Linked DNA regions of Homo sapiens: regions 1, 2, 3, 4, 6 and 7 are each linked to region 5. The links are contacts of gene promoters, found by promoter capture Hi-C in blood cells and fetal thymus (Javierre and others, 2016). All regions are on one chromosome and are shown on one strand. Each heading gives the region's core, a stretch centred on a gene start or on the middle of the fragment in contact. The rest is flanking DNA. Distances are from core to core; before and after follow the strand shown.

Region 1 (3,951 bases), core at 1-2,500, 280 kb after region 5:
GAAATATTGACTGCTTAGTGAATTGCATACTACGTTGTACCAGGTTAGTTATTCAATAAATGTTTGTTGAATAGTAATGATTGATTAATTTATTTTAGGGCACAAGGGATCCAATTTGTGCCATAACTGCATCAGATAAGATATTGATTGTGGTAAGTTTTGCAAAAACTTATTTTATGAATAATAATTCTTTAAATTATAAAAATATGGTAGGAGCCAGGTGTGTGCCCCATGTCTGTAATCACAGTTACTTGGGAAGCTGAAGCAGGAGGATTGCTTGAGGCCAGGAAATGGAGACCAGACTGAGAACATAGTGAAACCTTGTCTCTAAAAAAAAAAATTACAGTAAAGTTTTGAATATCATCTTATGGGCACCCCAAGTTTTACTGTACCCTTAATATAAGTTCAGTATGAGAAATAAGAAAGTTTTAAAGCTTTCCTCGCTAATAATTAACCATTTGCAAAAACAGCTATTTATGAAAGCAGTACAGGGATGACCAGCCGAGAAGACAGAGTACACTTACAGTTTCTAACACTGAGTGGAATGAGCCCTGTGGAAGATTGCATGGTGGTGGGGCAGATTGCATGGTGGTAGTAGGTATTAGAAAGTTTCCTCCTTTGTGTAGCCCGATATTTTATGTTGGAGAAAGTGCTTTGGCTCAGCCACTTTCATAAGACTTAGAATGACGAGGTAACATGTTTGCCAGCCAGTAAAATAGAGAAGCCTATGGCAAATTTCAGCTGAATTTTTCAAATAGAATCAATGGCATAGTGTCTTTTCTTGAGCTCTGAGATTTGAAAATATTAATTTTAGAAATTAATGTTTACTTTTATACAGTAATGCTGCTGGGGTTATTGCATTTGAATTATGTAAACAAAACCTTAATAGTATATATTCTAGTTCTAGTTACATTCCTCAGCCATGAGCTAATTTTATGGGGGGAAAAATCTTAAGAGCATAGTATTTCTATAGTATTCCCTCCTTTCTGATAAGCCCTCATGAGACTCATGCTGCAAAAGCAGTGGTTCTCTGATTAAAAAGAAGAGAGTTAAAGATCAGCTGTGTGGAGGCTTCCACTTTGTCCCACTGCCATGGCCTGAGGCAGCCAAGGGTTTGAAACCCACAGTTCTCTCATGGCATTATACTTACTGTTGATATGTCAACCTTAAGATTTGCCCTGAGTTGTGTACAAAATTATATGCTGCTTTATTTTTTAAACTTATTTAAACTAATATTCATAGTATCCCTGCATTCAGATCATCTTTCCTTTTGCTAAAAACTAGTATCAGATAGATGACTATAGGATAAAAACCTAGACCTTCAGTAACAGCTATATCATATGATCTTCTGTTGATTTTTCATATACATATGTAATTTAACTCAACAAGTACTTTGCTTTAGCTTTTAATGTGCCCTGAATATTAACCTAGATAACAAATATAAATAACTTTAGATTTTTTTTCCTTGTGATGTAAGAATTTGTGTATTGCCAAAGTGCTAGGTTTCTGACTTCTTTCTTGAATATTACATGAAAAAAAATTAGAATACTTCAGCTGTTTGAAAAAGGTTTAATTAAATTAGTAGGTAAATATGTACTTAAGGACATGATTCATTATCAGAATTGAGAATTTGCTGTGACATCACTTTGGTTTTAAGACAAATGTATAGACATATAGAGAAATAGTTGTAGTTTAATATTATTATGATACACGTATGCTTAAGTAATCAAAAGTAATTTCCATAGGGTCGTGAATCTGGCACCATTCAGAGATACAGTCTACCTAATGTTGGTTTGATTCAAAAATATTCCCTTAATTGTCGAGCCTACCAGTTATCCTTGAATTGCAACTCTAGGTAAGCCTGAAAACTCTGCTCATGTAGATGTTAGACTTAGAAATGATCAGTTGGGATTGTTAGATTTATATGTAATAAATGTAAAGATGGGCGTGTCTATTATGAACTTGTCTTAAAATTCAGTATGGTTTTATTTTATACTGCATTTGGTTTAAATGTTTTTAATTGGGCGTGTGGAAGTACTAGTATAATTTTTTACTCTTAAAGCTTAAAAGCATTGAGACTATTTTATATTTCATACCAATTGGTTTTGTCTCTGGATACATTTTCCTCAGAAGAGAGCAAAATAGAGAGTAGTCCATATCTTGTATCAAATTTATTTAACAAAATTTTAAGCCATTTCTACTGTATTCCAGGTTTCTGATAATCTGATTTTGAAGAAGAATGGCTATAGGTAATTATTCTCATGATTGCTGATAGTAATTTTATAGTTTTTTCCTTTTCTCTAATTGCATTGTTTTTAGCCGTCTTGCTATCATAGACATCTCAGGAGTTCTGACTTTCTTTGACTTGGATGCTCGAGTAACGGACAGTACGGGACAGCAAGTAGTTGGAGAGTTGTTAAAATTGGAACGAAGAGATGTCTGGGATATGAAGTGGGCCAAAGATAATCCTGATTTGTTTGCAATGATGGAGAAGACAAGAATGTATGTTTTCAGAAACTTGGATCCTGAGGTAAAAACAAGAAATGAGTGTTAACAGTCTATAAATAATGAGCCAAATATAAAAACCTGGATGATTCCCCTTTGTTTCTTTAAGAAGTTTGTTGAATAGCAGTGCCAACACGGCTGCATGAATTTCTGAAAATAAATAGGAACATTTCTGTGGATTTTAAAAATATTTGGTCTTAGGTGAGAAAATACTTATCTATTAAATATTCTCTACTTTCTCTGAAAGGTACTTCCTAGGCATTTATTTATCTGTTCTTTTTAAAAGGTGGAGCCATGGTCACTAGTCTTTTTTTCCCTTGTCAAACTTAAGAAAACAAAATCAGTAGCCTTATTTACCAGAATTTCTGAAAAGAACCTAATAAAAAAATATAGTTTTCAAATTTCCTTGTCCATTCATTCTTTTCTGTCTCTTTATTCACTTAATTCTGTGCTTACTTTGTCTTATTTATATTTACATTTACCATATCGTTCACAAATCTGTGTTCTTTCTTAACCCAGATATTCTTACAAATATGCAAGTGCAGGCAGGGATTAATCTCTCTTTTGGGTATGAGGAAGTCCCCTTTGTTCTCATTTTTAAGGTTACATTTTGATTTTCTGCTTGTGGCTCACATCAGCTAATTTCTATGCTCTGGATTTTCCTGTCACTTAGTCTACTCTGGCCAACTCTCAGCTGTTGTATTTAGGAAATACAAAATAATCCGAGTGGTAACCTAATCAAAACATCATTAAGAAGATAAATCTTTTAAATGACTTTTGAATTAGTAATGGATTTTCAATTTGGAATTTTCTGTACTTCTGCTGCACTCTACTCTTGTAAATAATAAGGAATAAGTTAATAAATGCTTTATATCATTAATTTCCATTTGTTTGCATGTATAGCTTCCTTCTTGGGAAGAAATTGCATGCTTGGGCCCCTGAGCTGCCAAAGGGTTTCTGGAGTAATTTATTTAGTGGTAAACTGTTTGCCCCTTTAATATCCTAAATTATTTTCACATTTCCCCATTTGAGCCCTACTCAGGAATTTTGGATGTAAAATGCCCTGATGTAAAGTGCTCTCAAAGGCTCTGTTAAAGCTTTTGCAAGTCTTAGGATCTTTGTGATTCTTCGACCCTGAGAAATAGTTCAAAGGAAAGGCATTCAGATTCAGGGCTGCTGCATTTGACCTGTAAGCATGGGCTTCTTTCAAGGGTCCAAGGGAAATTTAATCCTTGCCACAAAACAATTGTGGGAATTTGACAGGTAATCCACAGGATAACCTTGAGGATGGGAGTAGAATACTTTTTGAATGTTAGAGTCTTTTTCTATCCTTAGCCCTGCTCATACTAAATCACAAATCATATGCCTGGAGAAGGGAGAATGTTTGTTGTATCTGGCTGCTCATAATGTGTCTATAGCACACATGGTCAGTCTGGTACCAAGTGA
Region 2 (3,907 bases), core at 1,203-3,702, 460 kb before region 5:
CAAAGCTATAGCAGGGTAGTTGCTGAGAGATCCGGGGAAACGTGTTTTTCTACTAGTGGAAAGAATAGTCTCCCACTGGTTGTGAGGTTGCAGCATTTTAGAGCTACAGAAAGAGCTGAGACCAGGAGGAAGAACTAGGCAACTGCTAGGCTCTCATATTCTCTAGGAAGCAAAAGAAGTTCTTACTCTGCTAAGAACCATGGCAAAATGAATTCTGGCTTTAGGGGCTTTGGAATGCCCAGAAATGGTTGGAGTGAGGAAAAGTAGGAGAATGCAAAGAATGAATTAAGTGATAAATCTGTAAGTTGCAGGTCCTCTGCAGCGTGCAAAACTGGAACCCCAGGTAACAACCAAGAAAACCTCCATGAAGCTGGAATACTATGCAGTCATAAAAAAGGATGAGTTCATGTCCTTTGCAGGGACATGGATGAAGCTGGAAACCATCATTCTCAGCAAACTGACACAGGAACAGAAAACCAGACATGGCATGTTCTCACTCATAAGTGGGAGTTGAACAATGAGAACACATGGACACAGGGAGGGGAACATCACACACCGGGGCCTGTTAGGGGATGGGGGGTAGGGGAGGGATAGCATTAGGAGAAATACCTAATGTAGATGACGGGTTGATGGGTACAGCAAACCACCGTGGCACGTGTATACCTATGTAACAAACCTGCACACTCTGCACATGTCCCAGAATTTGAAGTATAATTAAAAAAAAAAAAAAAAAAAAAAAAAGGAAACCTCCATGAAGCAATTCAGAGTAAGTCTGCCACTTGAGGTTTACTTGTTCATAATTTACTCTCTGGAGTACTATGTTAAATTTTTTCCTCTATAAAGTGTTTTTAACTAACCATCTAAATATTGGTTAAGGCATCATGTTATTGTAATGAAGGCCATTGTTTTCGTAAGATCAGTCTCATCTGTCCCATATTCAGGTCATGGATTTAATAATTGATACACTCAAACTATCCAGTGAGCAATAACGCCTGCTTCCCTGCACTCTCCTCCCCCAGCACTTGATCACCTCCAATCCTTCTTCTCGTTGTGGCCAGAGTGGTTTTCCTGACATAGGGACCTCAGCATGTCACTTCACTGTGCAGTCTTTTTTGCCTTGTGGACTTCGGGATAAAGCGCAACCTCCTTGGCATGCATAGAAGATGCTGTCCATGACCTCATCCCTCTCTGCCTCTCCAGTCTTATCTCCCACCACCCTATATTCCAGCCATGTGGAATTCCAGTTCCCCACACATGCCATGCTCTTTCAAGCTTTGGTTTGCTTGGTCTTCTCCCCACAGTGTGCTGCCCCAGCTTGAAGACTCAACTGAGGCATCAACTCTGGGGAATCTTTCCTGCCTACTACTTCTGACCAGCTGCACCTCACCTGAGCTCTCAAATTGTCTTGTATACATGGGGTCCCCTTCTCCCCTCCCCCCAAGACTGTCTTATCTCTATTTTCCAGGTTCCTAATACAAAGTAGGTGCTCCATTTGTATTTGATGAACAAAGGAATGAGTAAGCAATTCAGTGTCTGAATGAAGGAGCACATTTGGTATATTAGGGAAGCTGCAAGTGACTACAGCTGGCCAACTAGGGGCTGGAGCTAGGCATAGCTCTGTCTTTCAGTGATAACAGAGGTCAAAGGATCCTTAAGATTTAGTTCTTGGTTTTTGTAGAAATTGCCACTATCTGTTCTTCTGAATATAAGATGTTGCTTTGTTGCCTTTATTTTTAGAACTAACAGAACTAGAACATAGCAGTTTTTCAGTGAAACACAGCAGCCTAGAGCAATATACATATATATCACATGCAGGTTTAGGTAGATATCCATTCAGGGTCTTAGTAATGCCACAGAGGAGGCTCTGTCTCCATTCAGCTGCTTGCTGTCAATTGAAGTATGATTATTGCACTTCCCCACTGAATCAACATACAGGCTGCATAGAGCCTTTTCTTAGAAAGGTCATAAACTCTCTCAGGATTCTGATCACATTTCATCAGCTACATTGGAAAGCCTGAGTCTATCTGATCTGTGTTTGTATTCATTCAACAAATACATCCCATATGACTACCATGTGGCTATTTGGAAACAACTAAGTTTATTAACTGGTCACTAGTCATTCAGTGACTATGTCTCAATAACTGTCTTCGTCATCCTCACCGGCCTTCATTCCAGTGTCCATCCCAACCTTAGTACACAAAACTTTCCTGGTAAGTCGTTTCAGTGAATTATGAGTGATCTATCACACAAGAGTCTCCCAGCATGGGGATCTTCCCACCAAATTCTTCTAAGTGCACTCCTGTACATCGTGAAGCCTTGCTGCCTTGAGAGAGCCACACTCTGGAGAGAGCTTAGGGACTAGCTCCCAGGGTCAGGCGTAGGTGCTGTCCTCAGAGCACTGCCGGCTGCTGGTGTCATATCTGTGTCAGGAAGGGAACGTGTTTTCTAATAAAAGGTTTTTGTCTTGTCTTTCAGCTTACATTTTATTATGGTACTATAGATCCTTGGTGTCCAAAAGAGTACTATGAAGACATTAAGAAGGATTTTCCAGAAGGAGACATTCGACTCTGTGAGAAAAACATACCTCATGCTTTCATCACCCATTTTAACCAGGAAATGGCAGACATGATTGCTGACTCCCTAAAGGATGACTTGTCCAAAATGTAAATTGGCCTGAGGAACAAGCCCCCACTGCCAGTACATGGAGGCAGTCAGTGTACTAGACTTAGTAGGTAAATGTTTAATTTTGAAGACTGATATTAGAAATGAAGAAAGTGAGAACCTTTGTCTTACAAACCAACTCTCCGCTCGCCATGTTATAGGCTGAAGTAAACACAGTTGATGAATCATTCCATAGGTTTAACCATACATTTTCCAAGACTCAGGGAACACAGTGATCTACACAGAGTCTTGTGTTTGCACAAGATGCCCAGTGGCACCATATGGTTTATTTTGGTAGGCAGGATCTTTGCAGATGAAAAAAAAATCTACATGTACTTGATTTTAATTGAGTTACATTGTAGAATAGGCTCCTCTGGAGGAAATTATGAAATACCTACTAGAAAATGTAAAATAAATCAGTGAATGTTAAGAGTATAGTTAGATATGTGAAGTGTATGAGATTATGACAAGGATACACTCATGTTCCAGGAGCAGGAAGTGAACCTGGGTCTCCTGTAAGACAGAAGATGAAGATGAGCCCAGGCTAACTTAGCACAGATCTTGGCTGAGATCATCAATGTGACGTCTAATGTACCTGCACTAGACAGAGAATAAAGTTCACCAGACATTACTCTGGTCAGCTAACCAGATAAAGAATTGTTGAAGGACCCCAACTGTGCCTCCTGCCACAGGACAACCAGCAAGTTCTATGCTGAGCCTTAGCCTCCCAGGTTATAAGCTCCCTGCAGGCTCCTCCTCTCCAGAGCCAGGATGGAGAGGCACTGGGCTGTCCCAAAGCAGGCTTGGATGTGCCAACGTACAGTTGCTCCTTCTGTAATTCTTGCACTAAAACTCCATTAAAGACCATCAATGAGCCAAATAGTGTGCTAGCCATTGAGGATGGAGTTCTTAGCTACTTAATGATTCTTTTCTTCTGGAAATCTTCTAGTGAATAATTTTTAAAAGCTTCTTTTAAACTGCTCAGTAAAACATTGCCATACATTAACTCTCCATTTCTGCATTAACTTCATTTGCTGGAAAGAAATTATTTTGTTAATGAACCAAACCCAGCCATTAAGTTATGTGAATTCACCTTCTCTAGACACATTGAGGTATGGCAGAGAAGACACATATTCCCTGGCCTAGAGTGGGCTGACAATATTGCTGCCTCCCCTAAATTGACTCAATCTTGAGAACCACATACTGCAGTGACAGTTGATCATGGATCAGAAATATTCCTTTTTCT
Region 3 (3,765 bases), core at 477-2,976, 290 kb after region 5:
TTTTAATTTTGAAATAGTGTTTTTACTATAAACTTAAAGCTTTCTTGTGTGAATTTTATGATATATGTGACTGTAAATACTTGGGTGACTGAATGGTGTAATTTTTCTCCTAGTGGAACAAAGCTGTTGAATTGGCTAAAAATCATAGTATGAAAGAAATTGGATCTCTGTTAGCTAGGTATGCATCTCATTTACTGGAAAAGAATAAAACTCTTGATGCCATAGAACTCTATCGGAAAGCCAATTACTTTTTTGATGCAGCTAAACTGATGTTTAAGGTAATGTAAAAATCTTGGTGAATAGTTGATTTGTTCCAGTCACAATATTTTAATATATGAAAGAGCATATTCTCCATTTTCTTTGGAAACAAATATTTATTACAGCAAAACCACTCTGGTTTTATTGCTTCTGTATACATTATTTTAGTATTATTGCCTTTTACCAACAAAGATGTTTATTAATATTAGCAACTTACTAATACCTAAACAATTGTATGTTGAATACTGGAGTTAACAAAGAGTTAAAGAAATTACTGAGACTGCAAAGTACAAATTTCTACAACAGGGAATTAAATTTTGTTGATAATAGAGTTTTAAGTTCTTTTAAATGTACAAGTTTTAAATATTACGCTTTACATAATATTTATTTGGAGGGAAGATAATTAGTACAGTATTAATGTATACACATTTTACCTTCTATTCTATTCCCATTTGATTTAATGAAAAAGGAAAAATATCTCTTAAAATCATTTAAATAAGTTTCAGCTTCTGAAGGATGCACCATGTTAACACTATCATATCTTTGTGTACTTGGAACATTATTTTAAAAATCTCTGTATTATGGAAAATACCAGCATTTCATCAATACTTTCTTTATTCTGATTTAGTTATCTAACAGCACCTCTCATTTTCTAAGAGTGATCTGAATTCCAACTCCTAGGGCTAAATACTAAGGAAAGAACTAAATACGAATAGGTACTAATGAAAAGAAGATAGGTTTTAAAATATTTATCTTAAATAGGTGATATTTATATTCCATCTTACTGATTTTCCTCCTTTTTTAGGGAATCAAATTTGTTAGTTTTGGAAATGATTGTATTTGTACAAATATAGATAAGAAGTAACTTCCCTCAATTTTGAAAAATGTTTAAGATTGCAGATGAAGAGGCAAAGAAAGGAAGTAAACCTTTACGTGTCAAGAAGCTCTATGTACTGTCAGCCTTACTTATAGAGCAATACCATGAACAGATGAAGAATGCCCAGCGAGGAAAAGTTAAAGGAAAAAGTTCAGAGGTAAAGTAGCACGTTAAATAACATTACATCATTGGAAGTGTTTAAGAAAAAAAAAAAAAGAAACTATTAAACTTCTTTTATGGATAGGTCATTTAATTTGCATGTCTGCATTTGTTTCCTTAAATGATATGAAGAAAAAGAATGACTGATTTAGAATTAGTATTCAAATTCAGAAATTTCTACCTAGAAATATTGAAATTGTTTTTCTGTAATACTAATCTGTAGTCTTTGCTTTAATGTCTTATTTGTTAAAAAATTTTACTTACCTGGGAAATCTTCCTTTCTAATCAGTGAGTTTTAAAACTTTCCTAGATATATTGTTGTAATGCGTAAATGAATGTCTGATTAACTTAGAATCTAATTAGTTATATTTTAAAATTTATTCATACCAGTTTAACAAACTATGAATTATAATAAAAAATTAAATCTGTTTTGGGTGCAGTGCTCACACCAGTGATCTCAGTGACTAGGGAGGCTTAGGTGGGAGGATCACTTGAGTCCATGAGTTTGAGACTGCAGTGAGCTATGACCACGCAGCTGCATTCCAGCTTGGGTGACAGAGTAATACCTCATCTCTTAAAAAAAAAAGTCTGTAATCATAGTTTTGTAATGATAAAATCTGCTCATTTAGATACTTTAATGACTGTTGTTATTTGGGAGTTGACACTGTGTGTGCGTTTGTGCTGACGGAAAGTGTGGGCTGACTTTACTCGTAGGCCACTTCTGCCTTGGCTGGTTTGCTGGAAGAAGAAGTTCTGTCTACAACAGATCGTTTCACAGATAATGCATGGAGAGGGGCAGAGGCTTACCACTTCTTTATACTTGCACAGAGGCAGCTCTATGAGGGATGTGTGGACACTGCACTGAAGACAGGTGGGCATGTCACCTAATGTGTATAGTATGTCTGAAAATTATAAATTGAGTATGAAGGGCTAGCTTCTTCAATTTGCCTTTATGTGGCCTTCAATAACATTTTTTCCTATGGATTTATTTTCCTATGTTTGAGTCTTATGCATTCCCATTTTTGAAGTTTTTTTTAATACAGAGAAAACACATAGTTCACAGAAATGTCAGAAATTTGAGATAAGCAAAAAGAATGTGTATAGCATTCATATGGCTAGCCATTCAAAGTTAAATACTTCATAGCCAAGTTCATATTTTTTGGAGAAAAATATATATACATATATCTATTAAATATATTTAATACATATATTTAAATACATAAAATATATTTAATACATACATTCAGATAATTTTATTCTTTACAATATCGGGAGTATAACATGGCATACTTTTATGTACTTTTTGAAAACCACGTTTTAAAATATTTCCATATTTTACATATACATTGCTATAGCATTTATCTTGTGTTTTATAAAAGTGATACTTAGCTAATAATTTCAACCAAAACAGAAAAATATGAAGAAAAAGTAAAATAATCTAACAATTTGTAAAATAATCCTATAACTCAGAGGTAATCATTGCTAAGGTTTGGGTAAACTTCCTTTTAGATGTTTCTACATGCAGGAGCATGGTTTTTTCCCTCAGCAGTATATTATAGTTCTTTCCTCATTCTTAAACAGAGATCTATATAAACATTCTACCTAATATTCCATGGTATTTGTATACTGTAATTGATAGAAGATTATTTACATGTAATATCAGGATCTCAATTTCTTCTTAACAATAACAATATTCTAGAATTTAGATATATGAACTCCAGAGAGTGTAATTATGATAATTATGTTGTAAGCCAAAGCATATGAATGACTAAATCATTACTGGTCTTTCAGCTTGGCCATGGCAAGCACTGTCATGACACCCCACCCTTCCTCTGTCATATTGGTGACATCATCCATTTGCTGCTCACATCATCACCATATGCACATCACACTCTAATCCTAATACATCATGAATCTGTATTCCAATGGCATGATATTAAAAGAAAACTTTTAGAGAAATTCTTTTATTTGAATATTTCTGGAATTCTATAGTGATGATTTTTATTTTTAATTATTTTTATAAGAGCTCTTTAGAGACCATATGTAATAATCGTCTTTCATATATATTGATTTTCCCTAGCATTTATAAGTTATAGTTACTTGATCCTTTCTAAGCTTCAGTTTCTCTTTGTGTAAAGAAAGGATAATAGTATCTTCCTCAGCCGGGTGCAGTGGCTCATGCCTGTAATCCCAGCACTTTGGGAGGCTGAGGCGGGTGGATCACAAGGTCAGGAGATCGAGAGCATCCCGGCTAACACGGTGAAACCCTGTCTTTACTAAAAATACAAAAAAATCAGCTGGGTGTAGTGGCAGGTGCCTGTAGTCCCAGCTACTTGGGAGGCTGAAGCAGGAGAATGGTGTGAACCTGGGAGGCGGAGCTTGCAGTGAGCCGAGATCGCACCGCTGCACTCCAGCCTGGGTGACAGAGCGAGACTCCGTCTCAAAAAAAAAAAAAAATAGTATCTTCCTCA
Region 4 (3,917 bases), core at 575-3,074, 260 kb after region 5:
GCAAGCCTGTAAACCCAGCTACTCGGGAGGCTGAGGCAGGACAGTCGCTTGAACCCGGGAGGCAGAGGTTGCAGTGAGCCAGGATCGTGCCATTGCACTCCAACCTGGGCGAAAGTGAGACTCTGTCTCAAAAAAAAAAAATTATTTTGAAAGAACCATTAATATTACCTTCAGAGAGTTAAGAGATATTACATCCATAAAATAAGAAAAGGATACTATAGAAGAGGAAGTTTTTGGAAATTAAAAATAGGATAACCATAATGAAAACTTTGGCTGGAGGATTAGAAGGTAAAATGAAGGAAAACACTTGTAAAGTGAAGCAAAAGGACAAGGAAATGGAAAATAGGGGTGAAAAGATAAAATTAGAGGACCAGTCCGGGAAGCTTAGCATTTCAATAATATTTCTAAAAAGAGTGAACAGGCCACTTTGGGAGGCCGAGGTGGGCAGATTACCTGAGCTCAGGAGTTCGAGACCGGCCTGGGCAACACGGTGAAACCCTGTCTCTACTAAAATAGAAAAAATTAGCCGGGCGTGGCAGCGTGTGCCTGTAGTCCCAGCTACTCAGGAGGCTGAGGCAGGAGAATTGCTTGAACCCAGGACGCGGAGGTTGCGGTGGGCCGAGATCACGCCACTGCACTCCAGCCTGGGAGACAGAGTAAGACTCTGTCTCCAAAGAAAAAAAAAAAAAAAGAAAAGAAAAGAAAGAAAAAAGAAAAAAAAAGAGTGAACAGGCAAAATATACAAAATACAGGGCAGTAAGTATGAAAAAAAAATTCAAGAAAATTTTCCTTGACGTTCTGGATTGGAAGTGCCTAGCTCAGTGAATAAAAACATTTCCACATTGAGACACATCATTGTAGAATTTCAGAACATTGGGGAGAAAACAATCTTACAAGCTTTCAGGGAGGAAAAACAGATTTCATAACGTCAAGGATCATAAGTGGCATTCTATTTGTCAACAGCAATGGTTTGGAGAATTGCCTCAAAATTTGCAGGGATAGTTTTCCAACTAGAATTCCATAGCTGTAAGTCAACTACTAATTAAATATGAGGGTAGCCCAGCACTTTGGGAGGCCAAGGTGGGCAGATCACCTGAGGTTAGGAGTTTGGGACCAGCCTGGCCAACATGGCAAAACCCTATCTCTACTAAATATACAAAAATTAGCCAGGTGTGGTGGCGGGTGCCTGTAATCCCAGCTACTTGGGAAGCTGAGGCAGGAGAATCGCTTGAACCCTGAAGGCAGAGGCTGCAGTGAGCCGAGATGTGCCACTGCACTCCAGCCTGGGCGACAGAGTGAGACTCTGTCTCAAAGTAAGTAAATAAATAAATAAATAAATAAATAAATAAATGGGTGGAATACAGACATTTTTAGATGTGTAACTCACTAAAAATTTCCCTTCCAAGCTTCCCTATCTTAGGAAGTTACTTTAGGAAATAGTCTAACAAAATGAGGAATAAACCAAGAAAGCAGAAGAAACAGTAGAGTGGACACCAGTGAGGAAGAAAGTACCAGCTGACCATGGTGCAGTGTGTCCAGTGAGTCAGATGAGAGGTCAGAAGGCTCCAAGAGAAATTTAAGGGGATAACAATAGACTACCTGACATATTTGAGCCCTTGCAGCAAGATATACATAATTCAGGGATAATTGGGGATTTGTGTTAGTAATAAGCCCATAGAAGACTAATCAAAGAGAAAAAATACAATTATCGACTACAGAGAAAGCAGAATGTGCTTGAAAAGAAAATAAATCATGATACACTTGATGGCTGAGTTGTGAATAGCATTTACATAGTCAAAATGATGTAATCACCCTTTTTAAACTTAAAACACCTTTTAATTGAAGTATAATAAACATACTGAACCCTAAATTCTGATCCGACAAAATGGTATTAAAAATAGAGAGAGGGATGGAAAGGTGCCCCTGTGTGGTAGGGGTGGGGTGGAAAAGGGAATGAAAGAAAGCTAAAGACTTGTCATTTGTAGTGGGGAGGCAAGAGCTAATGGACTAAATTGAAATAAAACAAGTAGCAGTATAAACACGTTACTTAGATTTGTGGAGGTAATAGCAAAAGGATCGGTAAAGGGAGCAGGAAATGGGAACTTAGGGGGAACTGCCATTTTTTAGTAAGAAGCCTTGTGGATCTATTTGATTTTTGGAACTACTAGCATGTATAACTGATAAAAATGAAAAATATATTAAAAATACAATTTGTGGTATTTTGTGGCAGTAAATAAGCTTATTTTAAGTAGTGGAAGAGTAAATTATGATTTTTTAAAATATGATTTTTATTATTTGGTTTATATTTATGAAATTAATTCAATGAGTTCTTTTTATTTTTTTTTAAATGTTATGGGTAATAGTAGACGTATGTTATCTATGGGGTACCTGAGATGTTTTGAGTAATTAAACAAATTTTAATCGAATGCTGAAAAAAGAAAAAGTCTGTGTAAATAGCACATAAAGAACTGCTTTATTTGAAATTGTTGTTCTAGTCAGGAAAAACATCTAAGTAGAATAGTATTCTTAGTACAAGATACAGAAACAGAGACTAACAGTAAGAAAAATGAAATGATCACTTTAAAACAATGTGATGTAAAATGTGCATTACGTTTGATTATTTTCCTAATATTGGTCATTGATGATTATTTGTATATAAGCCACTTTCATTAGGTTGAGTCATGTCTTTTTTGAGTTAACTGAATTTTTCTGAATTTCTCCTGTCATTTATATATTGCTTCAAAGGAGGAGAACGAGATGGAGACATTTGGTGCAACGGTAACAAATGAAATTAGCTCTTATATAGCTGATCATAGGATAAAAATGAGTTTTGAGGTTATAGCTGATCAGAAACTGTAGCAATATGAGGGGACTTCAGAAGGTTCATGGAAAAATGGAATTAACAGATAAAAATAAAAATAGAAACTTTATTTTTCAACATAAGCTCCATCAAGGTCAAGACATTTTTGTAAGCAATGATAACAGATATTTAGTCCATCCCTAAAGAACTGAGGGTCCTGGGAATTTAACCATGTCAATGCAGTCTTTTTTACATTATTAACTAAAGATAAATGGGTACCCTTTAAGGATTTTTTAAGATTAGGAAACAAAAGGAAGTCTGGAGCCAAATCAGGACTGTAAAGTGGATGGATGCCTAATGATTTCCCGCCAAAACTCTAGCAAAATTGCCCTTGTTTGATGAATAGAATGAGCAGGAGCATTGTCATGGTGGGGAGAGACTCTGGTGAAGTTTTCCCAGGCATTTTTCTGCTAAAGCTTTGGCTGACTTTCTCAAGACATTCTCATAGTAAGTGGACATTATTGTCCTTTGGCCCTTCAGAAAGTCAACAAGCAAAATGCCTTGAGCATCCCCCAAAACTGTCGCCATGACCTTTGCTCTTGGCGGTCTGCTTTTGCTTTGACTGGACCACTTCCACCACTTGGTAACCATTGCTTTGATTGTGCTTTGCATTCAGGATCATACAGGCAAAGCCATGTTTCATCTCCTTTTGCAATTTTTGAAGAAATGCCTCAGGTTCTTGATACCACCTGTTTGAAATTTCCATTTACTGCTCTGCTCCTGTGTGCAGCTGATCTGGGTGCAACGGATTTGGCACCCATTGAGTGGAAAGTTGGCTTAACTCAAATTTTTCAGTCAGAATTGTGTGAGCTGAGCCAGTTGAGATGTCTATAGTGTTGACTATTGTTTCTGCTGTTAATTGTTAGTCCTCTTCAATTAGGGCAGAAACAAGATGAGATTCATTTTTTCCTTGCAAATTGACATGGATGGTCTGCTGTTGCAGGTTTCATCTTTACTTTGTCTTGTCCCTTCTTAAAGTGAGTTGTCCTTTTGTAGACTGCTGATTTCTTTAGGGCATTGTCCCCATAAACTTTTCATAAAGGATTGATGATTTCAC
Region 5 (3,842 bases), core at 1,089-3,588:
GCTTCAGCAAAACATTTCCTAATGGGAAGGATGGTCAGACTCAAACAGCAATAAGATATAATTTTACTTGCATCAGCTGGCAAAATATAAAAGGCCCAACACCAAGTCATAGGAGGATGTAGAAAAATGGAAATGCTCATAACTGCTGTTGGGAGTGTAAATTACTATAAGCCCTTTGGAGAGCAATTTGCTTAGAGCAATTGCTTACAACAATTCCTGAGAAAGTTGAAGATGTTTATACCTATAATCCAGAGCTCTACTTCTAGAGAAAGCCTCACACATGCACTCAAGAAGACAAGTATAAGGGCCAGGCACGGTGGCTCACGCCTGTAATCCCAGCGCTTTGGGAGGCCGAGACGGGTGTATCACCTGAGGTTGGGAGTTCAAGACCAGCCTGACCAATATGGTGAAACCTTGTCTCTACTAAAAATACAAAATAAATAAATAAATAAAAAATTAGCCGGCCTGTGGTGGCGTGCGACTGTAATCCCAGCTATTTAGGAGGCTGAGGCGGGAGAATTGTTTGAACCCGAGAGGTCGAGGCGATTCTCCCTGCCTCAGCCTCCCGAGTAGCTGGGATTATAGGCACCTGCCACCATATCCGGCTAATTTTTGTATTTTTAGTAGAGATGGGGATTCACCGTGTTAGCCAGGCTGGTCGAGAACTCCTGACCTCAGGTGATCTGCCCGCCTCGGCCTCCCAAAGTGCTGGGGTTACAGGCGTGAGCCATCGCGCTTGGCCGTGAGTGACTTTTAAAAAATGAAAAGACTCCATCAAATCCTCCCTGACCCCAGTTTCCTCTGTTGTGAGCAGTAGAGAAAGGTAAGATTCCAAAATTCCTATTTTTCCACCATACTGGGTTGAAGGGATCTGTGGAGCCACCCTCTGGTAGAGGTAGAACCTTCGAAAAGGGCATTTTTAATCCACAGGGACTCCTCGAGCTCGGCTGGACCTCCGTGGTGCCGTGCTGTGAGACCATCCATCACTCAGGCACTCAGCGAGCCCACATCGGCCCCCAAGAACCCTGATGAAGGTCTTCCTGCCCCCTAGACAGACTTGGGGAGACGGACACCCCAAAAGCGAGAGCTCTTTGAGGTCAAACAGGTGCTCAGGAGCAGGGGTACAAGCAGGCCATCATCTTTTAGTGCTGTGAGGAGGAGTGGGGGGATGAGATGGGGACGCAGGAGGCTGCTCGGCTCCAGAGCCTGCTCCACGGTGGAAGGTGGAGGAGAGTCCAGGGTCCCACGGTCAGTCCCTGCGTGGCCCAGGAAGGTTTAATTCTTTTAAAGAGGAACACTGGACACTTCCCGATATTTTCTTGGTCCCCAGCTCAGGCCGACCCAAGTTCTTGCCTTCCGCCTAGGGAAGACAGGGGAGGACGACGCCATCTTTGGTCTCAGGGCCCAGGTGCGAAGGTCGTTTGGCACCATCTCTCCTGCCTGCCAGATGTGGGCAGGGCCCGTCCGGTTCTTCCCCTTTGCTCTCTCGGCCGTTTCCCCTACACCCGCAGGCCTTCCACAGCTTTTTGAACTGAGGCCCAGGGCCTCGCAGGGGATCTCGAAGGAGCAGCAACTGCACGGTGCTCCTCAGATCCGCGTGCCCGAGGTCACCGGGGAACAAAGAAGTTACTTATTTTTCCTTTTAGCTCAGATGAAGAGAGAGGGCGTTGTCTTCCACAGAAAAACGCTGCGAACTCCGCCCCCGTCCCCCTTTTTCTTGCAGCCCTTCCGTGCGGGTGCAGCTGTTTAAACTAAGGCCCCAAGTCTCCAGCACTTTGTGGAGTGCAGGAAGAACGCGAGCGTACGGGAGAATCTGGGCCGGCGGGGCGCAGCGAGCCGCATCGCAGCTGGAGGACAGCCGGGGTGTGTCTGTGTGTGTTTGCCCGTCGGTTGAAGGCCCCATCGCCCCCGGGTCCCCGCCCTGCCCCAGAAAGCGTTCCCCAAGAGAGCTAGGAGTCCTGCGCACCTGGAGCGCGCTCCGCGTCCACGCCCAGAGGGCGCTGCACACTCGCGCCCGAGGACTGCCTGCCCCCCTTCAGCCCCTCTCCCGGGCTGCGCCTCCGCACTCCGGGCCCGGGCAGAAGGGGGTGCGCCTCGGCCCCACCACCCAGGGAGCAGCCGAGCTGAAAGGCCGGGAACCGCGGCTTGCGGGGACCACAGCTCCCGAAAGCGACGTTCGGCCACCGGAGGAGCGGGAGCCAAGCAGGCAAGAACCTTAGGAGCGGGCCGGGGGTGGGGCGTTCCGAAGGGGCCGGGAGGGGTGGCTGGGGGGCGGGGTCCTGGGGGGTGTGGACTGGGGCTGGCCGGGAGACCTGGCGGAGCTGGGGGTGGGGGGCCAGTTTTTGCAACGGCTAAGGAAGGGCCTGTGGGTTTATTATAAGGCGGAGCTCGGCGGGAGAGGTGCGGGCCGAATCCGAGCCGAGCGGAGAGGAATCCGGCAGTAGAGAGCGGACTCCAGCCGGCGGACCCTGCAGCCCTCGCCTGGGACAGCGGCGCGCTGGGCAGGCGCCCAAGAGAGCATCGAGCAGCGGAACCCGCGAAGCCGGCCCGCAGCCGCGACCCGCGCAGCCTGCCGCTCTCCCGCCGCCGGTCCGGGCAGCATGAGGCGCGCGGCGCTCTGGCTCTGGCTGTGCGCGCTGGCGCTGAGCCTGCAGCCGGCCCTGCCGGTGAGTGCGGCCGGCGGCCAGGCGGGGAGGCGGCGGGAAGCCGGGACTGGTCACCCGCGGATGCCGGCGGGTGCACGTGGAGGGGGAGGGGGAGCGAAGACTTCCCTTCTTCCCGCGCTAGCCCAGCGGGTCCCGGGACGGTGAGCCCCGAGACCAGGGCTCCAGCCCCAATTTCCTCCGCTGTCGGTGGGTGCCGCACCGGTCCCGCGCTGGGGAGGGTGGGGGGCCGGGGCCCCGCGCTCAATTATGTAAAACGTCTCCACATCTGTCGGAGCCCGCCAGCCCACAGCGGCGCCCGGGGTCGCCCGTTCCCACCCTCCTCGCCCCGGCCACCGCGGCGGCCGGGCCCCCGTCGGTGACCCGGGGGGATGCAGTGACCGCGGCCACAACGCCCCCCCTGCAGACCCTAATTCAAACCAGACCCGCGGGCTTGCGCCCCAGCGCCGCCGAGCCCGGGCGCCCCGCCCCTTGCGCCAGGGCAAGTTTGGGCGCAGCGCGGCCGGCGCGGGAGCGGGAGGCGGCCGCGTTGGCCCGGGGAGCCGGGCCAGGGCTGCGTGGGGGGCGCGGGCGAGCGTCTGCAGGGCCCTCGGGCTTGCCGTGGGCGGCTCGAGGTGAGCTGAGCCGGCCCGGCAGCGGGAGGTTCCGGGAAGTTGGCCTCGGAACGCTGGAGACCCGGAGGAGCCCAACTTCTGGGCTGCTGAAGTTGAGCTGGCCCCGGAGGGCGCGTTCCCGTGCCGGGCACGGCCGAGGCGCAGGCGCCTTCCACGCGAGGGGACCCGGGAATGGCCTCCCGCTCCCCGGCTCGGCTTTGTGCTGAAGCCGCGCGGAGGGAAGGCGGGTCCCTTGGCCCGCCCAGTGCAGCTGGGAGAAAAGAGGGGCAGATGTGGAGCTCGGGGCTGTAAGAGGCCTTTGGGTGGGATGCAGCATCCACCTTCAGCGGGGCTGACGCTCCACTAAAGAGGGACGTGGCCGACAAAGAGCAGCCTGAGGGTCCCCAGAAAGTGGCTCTCCCGCCCCGGCCACCGGCCGCTAGCCCGCCTTCCCCAATGGGGGCGCTTTGTTCTCGGCCCCTGTAACCCTTTCCTGGGAACAGCCCCGTAACGCCGGCCTTGACGGGGGCTGGGACCTGGGCCGCAGCCAGGTGTCAGCGCGGGCCGCCCGGTGCCCGAGTCTGCC
Region 6 (4,121 bases), core at 1,494-3,993, 410 kb before region 5:
TTCCATCCACCCAGACTCGCCATCCTGCTTAGGTCCCAGGAGGGACGAGTTTGGTCCCAGGAGGCTGCAGGAAGCCCTCGGCCTCAGATCCTGGCATGGGAGGGTGCAGTGTGGCAAGATGCCTCCCCTGGCTCTGGGGTGGTTACCAAGTCCATTCTTTTCTGTCTTCCTCCACAGGTACCAGATCCCCAGGGGCTGCAGGGCTCACCAGCAGAGATTCCTCTGTCCTGGATGGCACAGACAGTCAGACAGGGAATGATGAAGAGGCTTTCGACTTTTTTGAGGAGCAAGACCAAGTGGCAGAAGAGGGTCCGCCCGTCCAGAGCCTGAAGGGCGAGGATGCTGAGGAATCCTTGGAGGAGGAGGAGGCGCTGGACCCTCTGGGCATTATGCGGTTGGTCTCCTGTTGTTGAGAGGGCCCCTTTGGTGTATTCCAGGCTTTCTGGAGATGACGTCCCCCTTCCCTGGAATCTGAGAAAAGCCCTGAGCATCCCAGGTCGCCCCCTCGCAGGGATCTGGGCCACGAGGCCTTGGCCTGGTGTGTTGGGGGAAGTAGCTCTCTGCGTGCCCTTGGTGGTGTGCATGTCTCTGGGACTGGGCTTAGGTGTCGCCTCCCTTCTCGGGTCACAGGATGTCCTCCACTTGTGGCTCCGCACTGGGGCTTGGTAGAGTCCTCCGTGACAGCTCAGTAGTGCAGGCTGCGGGCCTGTCCGGCTAGTGTGGGAGGACTGGGTGCTCCTTCCAGCTGTGGGACTCGCAGAGGTGGCTGCGGCTCTCTGGGCTGCATCATCTGCATAGCAGGAGCATTCACCTTGGCCCTGCCTCCACACAGGGCCATTCACCAGCCATACATCTCTGGCCATTTACAATCTCTTTTCTTCGGTTTTCCTCAGTGAAAATGGACTCATGGTCGTATCAACCTCTTAGGGCTCCTGTGACGATGAACTGAGTTATGTAAATTTAGCAATCAGCTACCATCATGGCCCCATCTTTCAGTGGAATCAGACCAGGCCAGGGGTGCTGTCCTCCCCGCTCTCTACCACAACGAATGTCTCTTAGCCGTTTACCAAAGCCCTCGGGCGCCAGATGAGTGTAGGTCCTGCCGCAGAAAGGAATTAGAGCCCAGTAGAAATTAGGCAGAAGCAAGTTCAACTTCATCAGCATGTAGAATTCTCTCCTAAAATCACAGCCCACTCTGGAAAGGCCTTCTTCGTGGGGAGGGTTATGGGAGGGTGGGCTGCAGGGTGGCCATGAGACCAGCGTCCAGGGGTGAGGATTTGCACTGGGAAAGGGTACGCGGCGCTCAGGGAGCTGCAGCAGAAACAGGCCTGAGATCTGGGGTCCTGCGGCACCTGGGCACAGCAAGTGCCCTGCAGTCGCTCCTCCTGGCCCTCCGTGGCTGGCCTTGTCCCTGAGTGGGGTCAGCGGCCCTGAGGGAGAGGCAGCCAGAGTAGTGGGTGATATGGGGACAAGCCTGTAATAGTCACTCCTTATCAGCCTGGCCCAACGCGGCAGGCCTTTCTTGGGCTTTATTTTGGTAAGGGTGAGGCTTTGTTTGAACTCACATTCTCTGTTGTTCTGAGTAACCACACGTAGTGCCAAACCGAGATGGACTTTGGTGGTCTGTGCCAACCTTTGGCTGAAGAACACACTTAGCCGAGCGGCTCCTTTTTTGGGTAGGAAAATGTTCTTTGTGGCTGGCAAGTGCTGCCTTGAACTTCCTACTTACTTCATTAGCAGATTGTCAGGGGAGATGTGTCAGCTATCCTGGGACCCCTTGGCGGGGCGGGGGGGGCGGGGGCAGCCCCCTCCCCAGCTCTGTACTCTGGGGCCCTCACCCCTGAATCCTGGGAAAGCTTAGCACCTAAGAGTAATCCTGCCGGCTTAAGACCCTCCCCTGCTGGGGTTTCTTTTTAAGGACCCGTGTGACAAGGTGCTGATGAATCAACGTTATCACCTCTGTCAGGAATAATAAGTAAATTTTTTGAGAGTTTATGAAATGCTGGGAACTAAGTTAGCATTTGCTTGCATGATCTCATTATATCTGTAAGACAGCATTTCTGAAACTACTTGCTACAACCCATAGTAAAAACTATATGGTACGCCATGACCCAGGACACACATGTATAAACATCCCATAAAACTGAAGCAAAAGTTCCCAGAACTCATACAAAACCTTACTAAGTGTATTGTACTGGGATATTTTCTATTCTATTTCAACGTTTGGAAAGGTCATGACTCGCCAAACTGCTTTCAGGATCCACTGTGGGCACAGGTCAAGAAACGGAGCCCTGGAGGCCTGCACTGGCATCAGCCTCTTCTGTGTGGTGGGAAACTCAAGTTCAGGGTCAGGTGGTTCGTCCACGTTCCTGCAGCCTGCAGATGGCAGAGCCAGGACCCCACGCCATCTCCAGTCCAGTCTTTATCAGCCTGGGAGGTGGGCAGGGCCCCAGGATTATCCCCCTTTCACAGATGGTAAAATCGAGGAAGGAGTTGAGCAGGATCTTGGCCAGAGCCGTGTGTGTTCCAGAGCTGTGTGTGTGGCAGAGCCGTACCTTGAAGTTGGGTTTCCACCTCGGCCTTTCACAGACACCCAGGTGGGCTTGTTGATCTCTCTTGGTGCCACCCACCTGCCCTTTGGTGGGGGACTTTCTGTTCTTCTCGGGAGGCTGTTTGTGCACCCCTCTCCCTCCCGTGCGCTTGGTTCCTGTGCAGATGCAGCGGCACCCGTTTCCCAGCTTGCCCTGCCCCATGTCTGGGCTTAGCTCTGGGCTCTCCTGGAGCGGCCACCATTTCCATGCAACCAGCCTCGGTCCTTCCCCGCCGTGGCCGCGGCGAGGCGCTGCTGCTCTGCTGAAGGGCTGCTCCACGGCAGGGCTGCTGGGAGGGTGGGAGTCGCCAGCACAAAGCCGGAGCCCAGGCCGGCCTGGCTTTTCTTTGTCTTTTAAACCTGGTTTTGATTAGGGACAAGAGAGCGTTATTACACCATTAGAGAGCAATTAAAGATAGAAAAAGCCCTCACCTCGGCCCATCCCAACACCACCGCTCTCTCCATCTGCTGGGGCTCTCTTCTGACCCCGTCCCAGCAGCATCCATGCAACCGCAGGCACAATGCACGTGCCTTTTCGTACTCTGCTTTTCCACCCTATGGTCTGTCCCGATTGCTGCTCCATGTCGCCCCTGTTTTGTATTTAAGTTTCTATTTTAGAATGTCACGGTGCTGAGAAAATTGACATTCTACCCTAATAGTTCTGCCTTATGCTGGAAATCCTCTGCGGGAAACCTTTTTCATTGTGACTCAAATAACACACAATTAGTATAGAAAAATTGCAAACACAGATAAAAGTCCTTTCCCTGTGAATTTCTGAATGCACCTTTGAATATTCACATCTTACTGCCAAAATGAGATTGTCTTGTGTGCCGTTCTGGAATTTGCTTTTTTCCAGCTTACATGTTCTAGGTCCTTCCAGATCAATAGCTGCACTCTCCCTCCTTCCTCTGCTGGTTTCTCAGCTCGATGGGCTGTAAGTGGCATTACCAGGCCCTTGCTTGTGGGCGTGGCGGGGTTTTCTGTAGGTTTTTGCTATTACAGGCAATAACCTGAGGAACTTCTACATATACAAAGCTTTTATTCTATGGAGCCTTCCCCTATATACGTGCCCCAGAGCAAGGTCCCTGAAGCTGCTTCTGGGGGCTTTGGGGTACCATTCCAGTAAAAGGTTCTCTAAGGGCTGAAGCCCCTCTGTTGGGAGGCCCCTCTGCTTTTCTAAGCCCTGCCCACCCCCGCCCTCAGGGCCCACTCCTCCCACCTCTTCTTTTGCACACAGGGACCCCCTCCAGGCCCTGGGTCCCTGAGGACTCACAGCGTCCTTGGGACAGGCTGGCTCCTGTATGAACAAATGCACCTGCCTGCAAAGCTGGTCTTCCCAGACTCCCTGGAAGGGGGAGCCCACACCCGGGTCCCCGTGCTGTGGCCTCCGTGGTGAAGCTGGATGTTTCTCTGGAATGCCACGTTTTATGGTTGTTTTTTAATATGGATTTTGCTTCATCTTTCATAAAACAACCACATGTATTTTAGTATAAAAATAATATCTTACTCTATATTTGGATGAAATCACTTC
Region 7 (3,983 bases), core at 1,219-3,718, 320 kb after region 5:
TAAAGTGGCATTAACTATATTTATTAAGTACATTCATATTGTTCATATTCCACCACCACCACCACCACCACCACCACCACCACCACCACCACCACCACCATCCATCTTCAGAATTCTTTATCTTGCAAAACTGAAACTGTATGCTCATTGAACAATAACTCCCTATCCCCCTTAAAGCTGTCCCTGGCAACCACATTCTACTTTCTGTCTCTATGAATTTGACTACTCTGGGTACCTCATAAAAATAGAATCATTCAGTCTTTTTGTGGCTGGCTTAATTCACTTCATGTAATGTCCTCAAGTTTCATCCATGTTGTAGCACGTGGCAGAATTTGTTCTTTTTAAGACTGAATAATATTCCATTGTATGAGTATACCATATTTCGCTTATCCACTCATCTGTTGATAGACACTTGGATTGCTTCCACATTTTACCTAGTGTGAACAATACCGCTATGAACCTGGATGTGTAAATATCTCTTTAAGACCATGCTGTCAGATATTTTGGGTATATACTTAGAAGTGGAATTGCTGAATCAAATGGTTATTCTTAGTATTTGAAGAATTGTCACACCATGTGGTTGCACCATTTTACATTCTCACCAATAGTGCATAAAGATTCCAGTTTCTTCACATCCTCACCAACACTTATTTCTTCTTAATAGTTTCCATCCTACTGGAGTGGTGAGAAGTGGTATTTGATTGTAGTTTCAATTTGCATTTCCCTAATTATTAGTGACGTTGAGCATTTTTTCATGTTCTCATTGGCCATATGTGTATCTTCTTTAGAGAAAAGTCTATTCAAATCCTTTGCCCATTTCTGCATTGGATTGTTTTGCTTTATTGTTGTTTTTGGAAGTTCTTTATATAGTGTGGGTATTAATCCCTTATCAGATACATGACTTGTAAATATTCTGTTTTTTACTCTGATAGTGTCTTTTCATGCACAAAGGTTTTTAAATTCTTGTCAAGCCCAATTTGTGTAGTTTTTTCTTTTGTTGCCTGTGCCATTGATGTCATATTCACAAAATCATTGCCAAATTCAGTGTTGTTAAGCTTTTGCCATATGTTTTTTCCTAAGAGTTTGTAATTTTAGTTCTTATATTTAGGTCATGATCTATTTTAATTTTTGTATATGGTGTAAGAGACCAGCTTCATTCTTTTGTAGTGGATATCCAATTTTCCTAGCACCATTTGTTTAAAAAACTGTCTTTATGCCAATAACACACTTGTTTTGGGTAATGCAGCTTTGCAGTAAGTTTTGAAATCAGGAAGTGAGTCCTTAAACTTTGTTCTTTTTCCAAAATTGTTTTGGCTATTTGGGAGTCCTTGTAATTCCATATGAATTTGAGGATGGAGTTTTCTATTTCTGCAGAAACATCATTGGGATTTTGATAAGGATTCCATAGAATCTGAAGATTGATTTATATAATATTAACATCTAAACAATATTAAGTCTTCTAATCCATGTACATGAGATGTCTTTCCATTTATGTCTTCTTCAATTTCTTTTAGCAATGTTTTATAGTTTTAATTGTACACATCTTTTACTTTCTTGATTAATTCCTAAATATTTTTTTCTTTTTGATGTTACTGTAGATGGAATTGTTTTCTTTTCTTTCTTTTTTTTTTTTTTGAGACAGAGTCTTGCTCTGTTGCCCAGGCTGGAGTGCAGTGGTGCAAGGCACAATCTTGGCTCCCTGCAACCTCCACTTCCCAGGTTCAAGTGAGTCTCCTGCCTCACCCCCTGAGTAACTGGGATTACAGGTGCCTGCCACCACACCTGGCTAAATTTTGTATTTTTCGTAGATACAGGGTTTTGCCATGTTGGCCAGGCTGGTCTCGAACTCCTGACCTCAAGTGATCCATCCACCTTGGCCTCCAAAAATGTTGGGATTACAGGTGTGAGCCACTGTGCCTGGCTGGAATTGTTTTCTTAATTTCATTTTTGGATAGCTTCATTGTTAGTGAATAAAAATGCAACTGATTTTTGCATGTTGATTTCATATCCTCCTACCTTGCTGAATTCATTAGTTATAACCATTTTTTAAATGGAATCTTAAGAAGGACTGGTGTTGGTTCTTCCTTAAACATTTAGTAGAATTCATCAGTGAAGCCATCAGGTCCAGGGCTTTTCTTTGTCAAGAGGTTATTTTTAGATTACTGATTGAATCTCCTTACAAGTTACAGGTTGATATGGTTTGTGTGTGTCCTCACCCAAATCTCATCTTGAATTGTAGCTCCCATAATTCCCACATGTTGTGGGAGGGAGCCGGTGGGAGAAAAAACTGAATCATGGGGGCAGTTTCCCCCATACTGTTCTCATGGTAGTGACTAAGTCTCACAAAATCTTATGGTTTTATAAGGGATTTCCCCCTTCACTGTTCTCTCATTCTCTCTTGCCTGCTGCCATGTAAGACGTGCTGTTTGCCTTCTGCCATGATTATAAGGCCTCCCCATCCACGTGGAACTGTGAGTCCATTAAACCTCTTTTTTCTTAAAAACAAAAAAATTACCCAGTCTTGGGTACGTCTTTATTAGCAGTGTGAGAACAGACTAATACACACGTCTATTCATATTTTCTATTTCTTCATGATACAATCTTCGTAGGTTTTTTGTTTCTAGGCATTTGCTCATTTCATGTAGTTACTCCCATTTTTCAGCATACAATTGTTCATAGTACTCTCTTATAATCCTCTTTATTTCTGTAGAATTGATGGTAATGTTCCCATTTTCATTTCTGATTTTAGTAATCTGAGTCTTTTCCTTTTTCGTAGTCAATTTAGCTCAAGTTTTATTAACTTTTTTAATCTTTTTAAGAACCAACTTTTGGTTTTGTTGATTCCATTTTTGTTTTATCTGTGTTTTGATCTTTTATTATTTTCTTCCTCTGCTAGTTTTGTGTTTGCCATTTGTTCTTGATATTTAATGTTAATAAATGTTTTACTTTTTAATAAATCTGTTAATATTCCAACTGTTTTTTAATATAATTCCTTTCCTTTGTAATCCTATGTTTTAAAAACACTTGAAAACATTGAAACGACATAGGCTTCACCACACTTGTAAAGGTGCCATAGCACAAAAAAGGTTAAGAATCTTACTCCTATTTAGAAACCCCCTTCCCAAATCCCCAATTTCCATTACATATCCTGCTATTTTCCTCTTAGATCACTGGTTTTTAGACACATAAATATTCCTGTTATTCCTTGAACAGAACAAAGCAAAACTTCTAGTCAGGTGCGGTGGCTCATGCCTGTAGTCCTAGCACTTTGGGAGGCTGAGGTGGGCAGATGTCTTGAACCCAGGAGTTGGAGATCAGCCTGGACAACATGGGGAAACCCATCACCACAAAAAATACAAAAATTAGCTCACTGCCAACCACTTCCACCCAGAAGGGATTCTTGTGCCTCAGCCTCATGAGTAGCTGGGATTACAGGCACCCGCCACCACGCCCAGCTAATTTTTTGCATTTTTAGTAGAGACGGGGTTTTGCCATGTTGGCCAGGCTGTTATCAAACTCCTGTCCTCAGGTGATCTGCCCGCCTAGGCCTCCCAAAGTGCTGGGATTACAGGCATGAGCCACAGAGCCTGGCCATCTCCACTTTTTCTTATCCCCCAAAAGGATTAACATCCCTGGCTTTATGTAGAATAGTGTACGCTGCCACATCAGTGTTTGAGTCATTCCCCAGAGGAGAGGGGAATCCCCCCTCCATTTTTTTTTTTGCAACATCTTGTCTTCCCTTTGCTGTTGCTTCCCCCAACACACTTGGTTTTGTTCTATCCTGTACTTCAGATTTGTTTTTTGTTTTGTTTTTTTCATATTGAAAAGATGACATTGCTCCAAGAGGCAAAAATAAATGGGAACTGAAAAAAAAAAGCTTTTTATCTTATTTATTTAATCTTTTAATTCACCTGGAATGAATATTATGTCAATTGGGAGCTTAAATGCTTAAATGTATTTTTCCCCAAATGGTTAACTAATCC

Evidence for each region. The method cuts DNA at HindIII sites, captures the fragments that hold promoters and counts their contacts. A CHiCAGO score of 5 or more calls a contact.
Region 1: a fragment that was not itself captured here is called in contact with the fragment with the promoter of SDC1 in region 5 in 6 of 17 cell types (M0 macrophages, M1 macrophages, M2 macrophages and 3 more); the score reaches 13.7 in M0 macrophages.
Region 2: a contact is called between a fragment that was not itself captured here and the fragment with the promoter of SDC1 in region 5, in 1 of 17 cell types (neutrophils). The highest score is 5.2, in neutrophils.
Region 3: a fragment that was not itself captured here is called in contact with the fragment with the promoter of SDC1 in region 5 in 2 of 17 cell types (M2 macrophages and M1 macrophages); the score reaches 8.2 in M2 macrophages.
Region 4: a contact is called between a fragment that was not itself captured here and the fragment with the promoter of SDC1 in region 5, in 8 of 17 cell types (M2 macrophages, M1 macrophages, M0 macrophages and 5 more). The highest score is 16.3, in M2 macrophages.
Region 6: a fragment that was not itself captured here is called in contact with the fragment with the promoter of SDC1 in region 5 in 3 of 17 cell types (neutrophils, non-activated CD4 T cells and erythroblasts); the score reaches 9.5 in neutrophils.
Region 7: a contact is called between a fragment that was not itself captured here and the fragment with the promoter of SDC1 in region 5, in 1 of 17 cell types (M0 macrophages). The highest score is 5.2, in M0 macrophages.

What each region holds. Positions count from the first base shown.
Region 1 is chr2:19,944,365-19,948,315 of GRCh38, reverse strand. It overlaps WDR35 (WD repeat domain 35), which reads left to right. Exons shown (of 27, transcript NM_020779.4): 14 at 99-152; 15 at 1,746-1,855; 16 at 2,320-2,530. Among named protein-coding and RNA genes, the nearest start is that of WDR35, 44 kb to the left of the region's middle. The HindIII fragment of the contact is 1,628 bases long and covers 437-2,064 here.
Region 2 is chr2:20,685,663-20,689,569 of GRCh38, reverse strand. LDAH (lipid droplet associated hydrolase) reads left to right here. Exons shown (of 7, transcript NM_021925.4): 7 at 2,476-3,907. The coding sequence ends at 2,667. Among named protein-coding and RNA genes, the nearest start is that of GDF7, 20 kb to the right of the region's middle. The HindIII fragment of the contact is 2,355 bases long and covers 1,275-3,629 here.
Region 3 is chr2:19,928,796-19,932,560 of GRCh38, reverse strand. It overlaps WDR35 (WD repeat domain 35), which reads left to right. Exons shown (of 27, transcript NM_020779.4): 23 at 114-278; 24 at 1,152-1,292; 25 at 2,009-2,165. Among named protein-coding and RNA genes, the nearest start is that of TTC32, 29 kb to the right of the region's middle. The HindIII fragment of the contact is 3,370 bases long and covers 42-3,411 here.
Region 4 is chr2:19,961,156-19,965,072 of GRCh38, reverse strand. All of the region lies in intron 10 of WDR35 (WD repeat domain 35), which reads left to right. Among named protein-coding and RNA genes, the nearest start is that of WDR35, 27 kb to the left of the region's middle. The HindIII fragment of the contact is 832 bases long and covers 1,409-2,240 here.
Region 5 is chr2:20,223,626-20,227,467 of GRCh38, reverse strand. SDC1 (syndecan 1) reads left to right here and starts at 2,338. Exons shown (of 5, transcript NM_002997.5): 1 at 2,338-2,666. The coding sequence starts at 2,601. RefSeq lists enhancers at 1,011-1,690, 1,691-2,370 and silencers at 1,922-2,301, 2,362-2,781, 2,822-2,881, 2,902-3,361, 3,772-3,842. The HindIII fragment of the contact is 9,225 bases long and covers 1-3,842 here.
Region 6 is chr2:20,634,709-20,638,829 of GRCh38, reverse strand. HS1BP3 (HCLS1 binding protein 3) reads left to right here. Exons shown (of 7, transcript NM_022460.4): 4 at 178-394. It overlaps LOC124907740 (a long non-coding RNA gene), which reads left to right and starts at 401. Exons shown (of 2, transcript XR_007086243.1): 1 at 401-2,597; 2 at 3,828-4,114. RefSeq lists an enhancer at 3,037-3,086. The HindIII fragment of the contact is 1,769 bases long and covers 1,859-3,627 here.
Region 7 is chr2:19,903,005-19,906,987 of GRCh38, reverse strand. No RefSeq gene overlaps it. Among named protein-coding and RNA genes, the nearest start is that of TTC32, 3.0 kb to the right of the region's middle. The HindIII fragment of the contact is 2,822 bases long and covers 1,058-3,879 here.